Linked DNA regions of Homo sapiens: regions 2 and 3 are each linked to region 1. Evidence: promoter capture Hi-C in human tissues and cell types (Jung and others, 2019). All regions are on one chromosome and are shown on one strand. Each heading gives the region's core, a stretch centred on a gene start or on the middle of the fragment in contact. The rest is flanking DNA. Distances are from core to core; before and after follow the strand shown. Region 1 holds the start of MSTN (myostatin). Region 2 has its middle 39 kb from the start of MSTN. Region 3 has its middle 38 kb from the start of MSTN.

The links. Contacts are between HindIII fragments. The study calls those that stand out against the background at their distance.
Region 2: a contact is called between a fragment that was not itself captured here and the fragment with the promoter of MSTN in region 1, in 1 of the 25 tissues and cell types used here (psoas muscle).
Region 3: a fragment that was not itself captured here is called in contact with the fragment with the promoter of MSTN in region 1 in 1 of the 25 tissues and cell types used here (hippocampus).

Annotation. Positions count from the first base shown.
Region 1 is chr2:190,059,804-190,064,121 of GRCh38, forward strand. It overlaps MSTN (myostatin), which reads right to left and starts at 2,926. Exons shown (of 3, transcript NM_005259.3): 1 at 2,421-2,926; 2 at 259-632. The coding sequence starts at 2,793. It also overlaps a transcript of AKAP19 not described here. The HindIII fragment of the contact is 12,121 bases long and covers 1,158-4,318 here.
Region 2 is chr2:190,099,392-190,103,302 of GRCh38, forward strand. It overlaps a transcript of AKAP19 not described here. Among named protein-coding and RNA genes, the nearest start is that of MSTN, 39 kb to the left of the region's middle. The HindIII fragment of the contact is 6,604 bases long and covers 1-3,911 here.
Region 3 is chr2:190,022,705-190,026,704 of GRCh38, forward strand. It overlaps a transcript of AKAP19 not described here. Among named protein-coding and RNA genes, the nearest start is that of MSTN, 38 kb to the right of the region's middle. The HindIII fragment of the contact is 5,055 bases long and covers 1-4,000 here.

The sequences.
Region 1 (4,318 bases), core at 1,676-4,175:
AAGGACTTCTTAAGAAGTTAAGAAGTATGGTATAATTGTTTTCTAAAATCTTGATGCAAAGTAAGAGTATCAAGGGAGTGTTTCATAGGATATGAAATTGGACACCTACTTTTATTGGGTACAGGGCTACCGTTGGGGTAAGATACCTTTGTCTAGCTTATGAGCTTAGGGAATTTGTAGCTATTTTCCACTATTGTTTGTTCATATTATGAATAAAAACATAAGGTTATTATAATGTTATTTTCAGTTATCACTTACCAGCCCATCTTCTCCTGGTCCTGGGAAGGTTACAGCAAGATCATGACCATTCTCATCTAAAGCTTTTATTTCAATGCCTAAGTTGGATTCAGGTTGTTTGAGCCAATTTTGCAACACTGTCTTCACATCAATGCTCTGCCAAATACCAGTGCCTGGGTTCATGTCAAGTTTCAGAGATCGGATTCCAGTATACCTTGTACCGTCTTTCATAGGTTTGATGAGTCTCAGGATTTGCACAAACACTGTTGTAGGAGTCTCGACGGGTCTCAAATATATCCATAGTTGGGCCTTTACTACTTTATTGTATTGTATTTTAGAGCTAAATTTAAAGAAGCAACATTTGGGTTTTCCATCCACTTGCATTAGAAAATCAGCTATAAATGAATAAGAAAAGAAAAGTTGCTGAAATTATTTCCCATTAACAAAACCCCTCCATATTAATAGTTGAGCATTTTTTTAAATTAAGATAATGTATGCCTATGCAGTCTTTTAAAATGAAATACCGTGTGGAACTTTATAACTCAAAAAAATGTCAAAGAAAATAATTACCCTAGCTTTTCAGAATTTTTCAGACGTATGTATTTTCAGCTGTTCATCAGGAATCTATTCCCCTTCCAGAGAACTATGGACAAAGGAAGGTTCTATGAAGTAATGAACGCTGAATGAAATTTTAAAATGATGATGATTAGAGAGAACAAGAGACACTGTGGAGGAACAACCACTTAGAATTCTTTGGGAATCTGAGTAGTTACACTTACTGAGCAGCTGTACCAATCAGTCTGGAAGAAGGAACCCTTCCCCCAGGCCTGAATTACCTGGGGACAAGACACACTGAGCAACTTACTGAGCCTCAGGAATTAGTAGAAAACACAGTACATCTGTTACATTTTGGCTTTGGAATAACCTTTTAAAGGAGCAAAACTAAGCAGATAATTAACACAAAAATTTTGATGTTATATTCAGGCTATCTGAAAAGTTCGAAAGTATTGTCTTTAGGGCCAGGCTGTCATGTAAGCACAAGCACTAACAATTTCTTTTATTTTGGTTTTCCAAAATTGTCTATAAAAGGTAAATCTGCTCCAGACCTATTTGATAGCAGAGTCTTAAATGGAAATTCTTTGCTGCATTGTAACCTGATTACTTAATAAGGGAAATAATATTTTAAAACTGTTTGGAGTCTTGTTTAAAGTATATAAAGCATTGTATTAAAGCAAGATAACAGGTAACACAAAATTTTTCTTGCCATGCCTTCTCTGTCAAGGTGCCTGTTTCTCTTTCCTGGAGAAAGTATTCTTTTGAGCTGACTGCAAAAGGAATTGTATGAAATATGTTATCTGTCAGAAGCAGTGTAGATACTACAGGTAAAAGCCCTCCCTCTCAGGAAGAATAAAATATTTTAGAAGGTTATTAAGCACTGTGCCTGCTTGGAAGTACACAAACTGGGTACTCTCAATAATAGTACTATGGTCAAGGTACAAGGAGGACTTTGTGAGCCATAACCTACCCAATTAAAATGTTTATTTCTTAGGCATTTTCTAATATTTAGTTCATGATGATTATTATGCTATGTTTACTTCATTATTGTTCTTACTAACACATTAAGATATTTAATTTTTGCATATTCTTCAGTGTAATAGCTCTCAAAATTAAATTTTTAACTGTGAAGAACAAAAAAATTACTGAGAGAGTTTCAAATAACAGAAATCACTTGAGGTTTTCAGCAGTGCTCAAGTAAGCTTAAACATCCAGCAAGTTTCTTTTTTTTTTTCTGTTATTAGTGAAAAAAACTTATTTTACACAACTAAATACAATTCTAAAATCTAATGTAAGTTTTAAACACTGCTTGTAGTATCTCCCAGTCCTTGCCTTGGTGGTATTATTGTGAAAGCATAAGCATGCTATCTATATTTGCCTTATTAAATTAATGCTATGCAAGTACTTTATTTTTTAGTTTTTTGTCTCTATAAGAAAACAAATAATGCAGCAGATTTTTGTCTCATTAATATATTCTCATGCAATCTTGAAAAAGAGAAACTCTTTTCCTTTCTACTTACATACAGGCCAACAGCTTGTTTAAAAGAGCCTGAAAATAGATCTGTTTCTCATAAACACTAGAACAACAGTCAGCAGAACTGTTGATATACACTAATAGGACTACTTACACTCTGTAGGCATGGTAATGATTGTTTCCGTTGTAGCGTGATAATCGTCATCTTCCAAAGAGCCATCGCTGCTGTCATCCCTCTGGACATCATACTGATCAATCAGTTCCCGGAGTGGAGGAGCTTTGGGTAAAAGTTGTCTTATAACATCTTTGCTGATGTTAGGAGCTGTTTCCAGACGAAGTTTACTGAGGATTTGTATCTTAATGGCTTCTATTCTTGAAGATTTAGTGTTTTGTCTCCAAGTACATGCATTACACAGCCCCTCTTTTTCCACATTTTCTTTTTGCTCACTGTTCTCATTTAGATCCACTGGACCAGCAACAATCAGCATAAACAGGTAAATATAAACACAGAGTTGCAGTTTTTGCATGATTTTAAAATCAATATAATCTTTTTTCTTGTTCTTGTTTCTTCCTTTTACTTTTCTTTTGCTTTTGAGTAATGCCAAGCAAAATTTTAATGCATGTACAGTCTGAGAGACAACTTGCCACACCAGTGAATCTTTTATACTGTATTCCAAGTGGCTTTTTATATTCCAACTTAGATGAGACAAGTGTCGTCAGGATCTATGATTGGCTCTTGCTCCACAATGAATCTCGCTGTCAGAGGTTAAAACCCTGTCTGTCCCAAGTCACCAAGCAGTATTTTGTTACAGTCAAGGGTGAGCTGATTCATTTGACTACTTCATAAAAGAAATAAATCTACAAATAATAAAAGATATTTGTGACATTTGAAAAACAAAAGTCTATGTTGGCAATAATATAAACTGTACTTAAATCTTACTAATCCTCACACAACTCTTATTGTAATTTAAATAAGTCAATTTTAATTTATACTACATATTTAAAATATGAAATATTACTTCCTCAAAAACTAAAATGATTTTATATTGTTTAGGCAAGTATTTGAAGTAGAAAATATTTTTATTTGTTGTATTAAATTATTTTTAGTGCCAAGTAATTAGGAAAATAAAAATTAGGAAGACCTGAATTAAAAGTTAAGATTATGATACTAGTTGAGAATTTTCATCTATAATTTGAGAAACTTGTTTTCTGACTAAATTCTTAGTAAATATTGGAAGTCATTGTTATTATAACATATTGTGCATGGAATTATTTTTACATAGTTTCATGTCTTTTATTAATATGAAAATTATACTGAACTTTTGACTGAGTGCTATTATTTCCTATTCTAAAGATGCAGATTAACATAACTCAGAAGATGTGTTTTTCATTGTTTATTACCAAGAGGGTAATGCCAGCTAGTAGAAAAATCTCTGAACATAGACTAAGATAATGAATTTTATAACTGGCATGGCAGAGATTATTACAGTTTGCCTCAGATTTCCAGCAGTAAATATCCAGAGAGTAAAAAGTGCAGTATCTATTCTCTATAAATTATATCAGAATATTATGAGCACATAAAAGAGAAAGAGCATCATGATAAAGGGGTGACCTTTTGTTGTTTCCCAATACTGCGATATGTTTGCACCCCTTTGCCAATTTCTCATTTTGACCAGAGGGCAGACACCTGGCAGGGATTTGGGGTAAAGTCTGGGAGCAGAGAATAGAGCTTTTTGTTCTCTAAATTTAAGTGGCCTCTGTAGGGATCAAACGTTCAACCTTAGCTTTGGGAGCCACAAGATCTAGTCAAATGAACTATTAAAGAGCTAAGCAAACATAGCCAGCAAGAAACAGAAGATATTTCTAGGCCAAAGGAGATTTCTTTTTCCTACTCCTTTTTGGGAAGCTAAGGATTCCTAAGAGATTTAGTCCATTACTTTTTTTTTCCAAGAGAATACAGTGGCTCATATCAAATATTTATTTTTAAAGTCACTACCATTTTTGCACACTGTACACTAATTTACTGCCTCGGTGCACTAAAATGCAACTCAG
Region 2 (3,911 bases), core at 1,159-3,658, 39 kb after region 1:
AGGGTAATGACCAGTTTGTGGAGCAGTCAGGACACATACAACATTTATTAAGTTCACTGTCTTATATGGACACGGTTCAAGGTGCCCCAAAACAAATACAAAAGTAACATCAAAAAATCACTGATCATAGATCACCATAACAGATATAATAATAATAATAAAATTTGAAATCAATTGCAAGAATCACCAAAATGCGACAGAGACACCAAGTGAGCATGTTGTTGAAAAATGGTGCCAATAGACTTGTTTGATGCAGAGTTGCCACAAACTCAATTTGTAAAAACCACAGTCATTGTGAAGCACGATAAAGTGAAATGCAATAAAATGAGGTGTGCTTGTGCTTAAACATTGTAGATGCTCCATACTTTTCTTGATAAGTAAATACATTTTTTGAAACTTTTCTCAGACTTACCATGATATAACATGAGCTGATGGGAATGAATCCTTAACTCTTCTGCTCTAAACATAGAATAACATATGGCTAAAACTTCTTTAGGTATGAAGCTGAGTTTGAAATCAAGAAAGAAAGTCCCCCTAGTATTAGAATTAAAAAGGAAACTTCAAGTCAGAGTGCTAAGCAGAATCTTATGCCCAAACTGCTCATAGAATTGTTGCAATCAGATACAGGCCTTAAACACTGGAGTTGGTTCTACTAATTGTCTCCCTGAAAGGAGATTACAGGCTTCAGACTGTAGGATTAAAGCTAAAACAGCTATTTAGATAAATCCGGGAGTCATAAAGGGTTGGGCTGACTTTGAAATGGAGACTAAGGGAACTCTGCCCATCAGCCCAGTTAAGCAACAAGAAGGTTTATTAGTATCCCAGGATGATGAATGAGAAAATATCACCTGCAAGAAATAAAAAAAAACCAGTATGTGCCATGCCAAGATGGGGAGTCTGAAATCATGCTGACTATGTGGAAGGACTTTGAAGCCAGGAAATCAGCTAAAAAGGGATCCAATTCGTTTTTGTTGCTGTTTTGGTTTGGTTTGCTTTTCAGACCTGCTCCTTCTGTAAGGAATCCAGTTCTTTCATGCAAGTTGAGACAAAGAAAAAGTATCCTATAGGCTACTTTTCCACAGAGAACTCTCTTCTAATGAGTAGGTCATAGTCAAACATTGTAAATCATACCATAAAACAAATAACTACGTTTGAGACTCAGCAGATGAAAGAAATGGAAGCCAAGGCTTAAAAAAGTAGAATAACCTGACAGAAATATTTACAAAGTATGTTTAAAATATGCACAGGGGTGAAGGAAGGATTATAAACCATCAGGGAAGAAAATAACAATTAGAAATTTTTTTTTCCAAGACAGCTGATTAGAGGGTTTTAGCATGTCTCAGCCACTTGGAAACAGCAAGATAGTACATAAAGATCAACTGTGAGCTTTAATTCAAGAAGGAAAATCAGAATCCACTGGAATTGTGAAAGATACTCCAGATCCCAGGGAGGAGAACACTGGCCCCATGATGGTGTCCAGCTGATAAAAGTGAGTGAAGCCCCAGTAGGTGAGAGAGGCAGAGAGCCTCCCTCTGTAACTCACCCTTCCACTGGGGCTCCAAGCACCCCAGGCTGAGAAAGAAAACTTTGTTCCTCCCAAGCTCTGGAGCTAACTTGGGGAGAGGCTTGGAGATGCTATGAGGGAAAGACATCAGGAAAAGCTGCAGTCAATTTCCCAGACCCAGTGTTGAGAGGAGGATGCCATTTTTAATCTAGGCACATGCAAAGTCAGCCATTCTTTGGCATCCTGGCAGTGTGGCCACGCAGACATGTTTGTCTCAGGCCAGAGACTGAAGTGCTTGCTCTGGAGTGAGATAGGGGCCTCCACAGGCCAGAGTTGTGGAAAGTGCCTCACCACTAGGCCCTGGAATTGTGTTCTTCCCTGTCACAGGCCTGTGGCAGGAGGAGAGCTGCTACAGTTATGGCTTCTCCTCGGCAACAAGGCTTGCAGCCAGGACCAGCTCGGTAACCTGGAACCAGTCTGTGTGTGCCATTGCTGGGTACCCTATCCTGCTCCCCTGAGAGGATAGCAGCAGGGCTCTCTCCACTCCACCGCCAGGCAGAACTCCAGGCATTCAGAGCACACATTTGCCTGGACCAGCAGCCTGAGCCTCCCACCCTTCCTGGAGCAGCAGGGCTCTTTCCCCTCTATGCTCAGGCAGATCACCAGGCATTCAGAGGTCAAAAAGGACAAAGGTCATTACATAATGATAAAGGCTCAACAAGAAGACTTAACTATTCTAAATATATATGTACTCAACATTGGAGCACCCAGATTCATTTAGGAAAAAAAAAAAACTACTTCTAGTATATAAAAAGACTATAAAAAGACTTACACAGCCACACAGTAATAGTGGGGAACTTGAACACCCCACTAACAGCATTAGACAAATCATTGAGGCAGAAAACTAACAAATACATTCTGGACTTAAATTCAAAACTTGACCTATCTAATCTAATAGATATTGACAAAATACCCCCACCCATCAACCACAGAATATATATATTCTTCTCATCTATACATGAAACATTCTCCAAGGTTGACCACATGCTCTGCCATAAAGCAAGTCTCAATACATTTTTTAAAAATGGAAATAATACCAACCATACTCTCAGATCACAGTGGAATAAAAACAGAAATCAATACAAAGAAGATCTCTCAAAGCACACTAATACATGGAAATTAAACAGCTTGCTCCTGAGTGACTTTTGGGTAAACAAATTAAGGCAGAAATAAAAAATACCTTGAAATAAATGAAAACAGGTATACCCAAATCTCTGGGATGCAGCAAAAGCAGTCTTAAGAGGAAAGTTCATAGCACTAAACACTTACCTCAAAAAATTAGAAAGACCCCAAATTAATGATCTAACATACACCTTGAGGAGCTAGAAAAACAAGAACAAACTAACCCCAAGGCTAGCAGAAGAAGAGGAATAACTAAAAAAAAAGAGTAGAACTGAATGAAATTGAGACCCAAAAATTCACACAAAGAATCAATGAAATCAAAAGTTGATCCTTTGAAAGGATAAACAAAATCAATAGACTGCTTGCTAGATTAACAAAGAAAAAGAAAGATCCAAATCAGCACAATCAGAAATGACAAAGGCGACATTACAATTGAGCCTACAGAAATACAAAAGATTCTCAGAGACTACTATGAACTCCTCTATGCTCACAAACTAGAAGATCTAGAGGAAATTGATAAATTCCTGGAAACATACAACCTGCCAAGATTGAATTAGAAAGAAATTGAAACCCTGAACAGACCAATACTGAGTTTCATAGTTGAATCAGTAATAATAAAAAAAAAGACCTACCAACCGAACAAAGCACCAGAGCAGACAGATTCACGGACAAATACTGCTAGACGTACAAAGAAGAGCTGGTACTAATTCTACTGAAACTATTCCAAAAAATCAAGGAGGAAGGACTCCTTCCTAACTCATTGTATGAAGCCAACATCACCCTGAAACCAAAACCTGGCAGAGACACAGCAAAAAAAGAAGACTGCAGGCCAATATCCCTGATGAACATAGATACAGAAATCCTTAACGAAATGCTAGCAGACCAAATCCAGCAGCACATCAAAAAGTTAATTCACCACAATCAACTAGTCTTCATTCCTGGGATACAAGGCTGGTTCAACATATGCAAATCAAATGTGATTTACCACATAAACAGAATTAAAAACAAAAGCATTATGATTATTTCAATAGATACAGAAAAAGCCTTGGATAAAACCTAACATCCTTTACTGAAAAAAACCCTCAGCAAACTACCCATGAAAGGAACATATCTCAAGATAATAAGAGCCATCTATGACAAATGCACAGCCGACATCATGCTGAATGGGCAAAAGCTGGAAGCATTCCCCTTGAGAAGTGGAACAAGACAAGGATGCCTACTCTCA
Region 3 (4,000 bases), core at 1,105-3,604, 38 kb before region 1:
TTATGTAAATAAAGTGCCAGGAGAGTGTCTAGCAAATAGTAAGTCCCAAATGTATTCTATAATTTTTTTTTTTGTTATAAATGGGGTCTCAAGGTCACATACTAAGTGCAGAGCCACTCATGTACTTGTTTCATTACTCCTAATCTGGAGCTTTTTGTTTCATTATGCTGGTTCTAGGTAAGTAGAAGGATAGGTGAGATGTTAGAGTGGTTGGTTGAGGGGACCTCAGAGAAGAGACCTTTAAGAAGGAAGAGGTGATATCTTAACTGAGAATGTTAGGCCAATGTCTCTGGTTCCTTTTGGCTAAAGGCTCAGAAAGGAGAAATGCCCCCAAGCTGGTATTTAATTTATATTTATATTTGAGCAGAAATGCTTCCAAACTGATATTTCATTTTATGTTTATGTCTATATATGATTTACATTTATATTATATGATAATTATACATTTGTTCAAATGTGATTACTACTTTTTTATGCTATATTGTAAACTGCAAAATTATGTGTTTTTATAAACACATTAAACACAATAAACAATAATGTGTTTTTATAAGTTAATCCCATGTTTTCTTATCCAGTTTATCTCAAGTTGAAGAACATCTGAGGTCAGAAAGTAGTAGTGGATCCATAGGAGAAGCATAGTACATCTTTTCCAGGGTGTTAATTTTACTTAAAAATAGTGTAGTAACATAGCATAACTTTTACACTAAAATAAATAAAAGCATATTATGGTGTAAAACAAAATTTACATATTTTAAAATAAAATCTGAAGCTTTGACAAATTTTATGACTATAGAATGATCCTTGTGCTAATGTTCACTCTAAGAGATATTTTGGTGGAATATCTTGAGAAATAGTTGGGAGATTAATAATTTGGGGAAAAATATTTTCTGTTTTTATTCCAGTGTTCTTTTTTTATTTTACAAAGTCGAATTTTTAAAATTTACATTCTTTCTTGTAATCGAATAATCTCTTTAGTTTTAAGATTATCTTGCCAGAAATTTAAGGAAAATAAAAAGTGCTTTGACATCTTCTGGAGCATTAACAGAGACTCAAAATATCATATTTGCTATTCTGTAGGTAATGTGTGTGTGTATATATATATATATATATATATACATATATATACTTTTTCTGATTTATGTTCAAGTAGTTTGAAGTAAAGCTATATTAGTTACATTGTAACATTTTCCAATTGAATTGCAATGACGTCTTTTAGATGTTTAGTGAAAGACTGTTAAAATTTCATCGAAGTAAGGGGAAAAATATCAATTTTTCCTTATAGTAATTTTTTTGTACCTATAAACGTATACCTATTGCTGCCTTATAAAGTTCAACATATCCTCCAGGGGGCAGTAGATGCAATAGTAAATGTATTTATGTTATGCAAATGCAAATGACATGTGGAGAAGTAATGAGATGGGAAGGCAGCATTCTGACACCATGGTGGTCATGCTGGAGTCATTGTCGCTGGACAGCGTCCTGGTAAATGTGTCTTCCTAGGGATGTGAGTCTAGATCAAGCAGTTTGGCTGGAATGCACTTGGAATCTTAAAAGCTCTTTTGAGTGAGAAATCATCAAGGTAAGATTTGCAGAACCAGTATATATATATATATGTGTGTGTGTGTATATATATATATGTGTGTGTGTATATCTATACACACATATATATGTGTGTGTATATATATATATATACATATATATTTTTTCATTTTTCAAGAATTCCCGGTTCATTTCACTCTATACAAGGGAATAGACAAGTAAAGTCATATTTATATATACTCATTGCAACTGTAGAATGGGCACAAATCCTATACAATGCTAAACTGTGCTGAGGATATCTAGGCTGCATGTCCTAAGAGAAAGTGTATGTTCAAAATTATGTCATTGAAGACCAGCACACATATATCATTTGTTCAGGACCTAGGACACAGTCTAGGCTGGAGAAACCCTGATTGGGTACTTGAATTCACTCTGGCTGATTCTAGGGTAAACTGTAAGCCTCCAAGGCAGCCTGAGGAGTCCTATATATTCTAAAATATTTGGTTCTAATCCAATATACACCTAATATTTCAGTCCTTCATTGTTTCTAACCTATTCTATTGATGTGCCATATCTATGTGTCTTTTGCCTCCTTGTGAAGGAAAATCTCTAAATATATTTATAATCACTTTAAATAGCTGTCTAATGCTAGTTGATCTGTATTCACTGCTTATTCAACATCTCAAAATAGAATTGATTTTCTTAGAATGAAACCTGCTCCTTTTAAAGCATTTTCAATCTCAATTCTTGACATCACTGTCTATCTAGCTGTTCAAGGAGGAGGTATATTGTTTTTAGACACCTCTTTGCATTTTAGCTTTCATATCACATTGATCACTAAGATTTACCAGTTTTATCTCCCACATGTCCATTCAGGCCAGCAACCTCATACTTAATGTCCCTGCTTCTAGTCTTGCCTCATTTTCATTAATGCTGTTTGCTAATACAGGGTGTTCTTTCTAAAAGTAGTTGGACTATTTTTAAGTTTCAGTTCTTTGAATTATACACAATTTGTTACAGGATAAGTTTCAAAAATTTTTAGCAGAGCATACAAGGTGTTTCAGGATCTGTCTCTGGTTGCCTTCAGATCCTCATCTCCTCTGCCCATTCTCCATCCCCCCACATCATGTGTGCACAATGAACTGAATATTTTCATGCAGTTTGAGAACATTCACATATGATAAATTAAATTTACTCATCTTGGGGTAGATTTCTATAAATTTTGACAATTACATATAGTAATGTAACCACAACAGTAATTGAGATACAGAAAAGTTTCATCATCCTAAAAAAGCACCTCATGCCATCCCTTTGTAATAAAGCTCTTTGTAGTCTAAGCTTTAGAGCTGAGCCCATGCTTTTCTTGGGAAGCCACAGCCAATGACTGAGCATGGTGCAGACACAAAGTCCTGGCCATTTCTGCGCAATACCAGACTTTGCTAATGGGCAGTATTTGCTGTGGAGATGCCATCGATATAACTGAAACTCTGTCAGATCTTCATGATAATCTGAGGCTCTCTTTGCCCAATCTTTATCCCCAAGCACTGGTGAATTCTGGTCTGTGTTTAGTCCCTATAGCTTTACCTTTAACAGAATGTCAAATAAATGGAGCTGTACAGTATATAGCCTTTTAAATCTCTTTCACTTAGCATAAAGGATTTAAGATTTATTCATATCGTAGTTCTCAATCATTTATATTTACCCCAAGCAAGACAGTCACTCCCACTAACTTCTCATGTCTTCATGACTTTGAGCATTCTTTTGTTTCTGAAATTCCTCGTTAAACTGCTGAACATCTGCTCATTTTAAAAAAATACAAACATCTTCAGCTCATTTGTCATTAAACATGACTACTTCAGGCCAACTTAGATATTATTTTTTCTATAATACTACATTGCATTGCAGTGATTTGTGTAGTTGCTTGTTTCTTCTACTCCAGGGATGGGTAAACTACAGCATGTGGGCTATGTCCACAGGCCAAATCAGCTCACTCCACCAATCTGCCCCCCAGCTTTATGTGACAGAGATAGTATGTGGCCTACAAAACCTAAAAGATTTGTCAAATAGCTCTTTACAGAGAAAATTTGGCATCTCCTACTCCACTTGACTATGAAATCTTTGCATCCCCACAATGTAACTTTATCAGTTAGGGGCTTGGTTAGGAAAACAGAAACGATGTTACATATTTTAACACAGAAAGTTTTAATATAATGATATGGTTATAAAAATGTTAGAAGGGTGGGAGAAGCATATAGGAAATGTATTAACCAGAGCCCTGGAACCAAAACTCCTATTGTCCTTATAAGAGCTGGAAATCAGCACTTCTGCTTTGCAGCTACCAAAAGTAAACAAAAAAGAATGGCTCCTATCTTCTTTCTTCTTTCTAATCTGATGTGAGTACCTCCAAATGACAGAATCTACCAGAAATCAGTTGGCAATGAAGTCTGAGAAACATCATTTT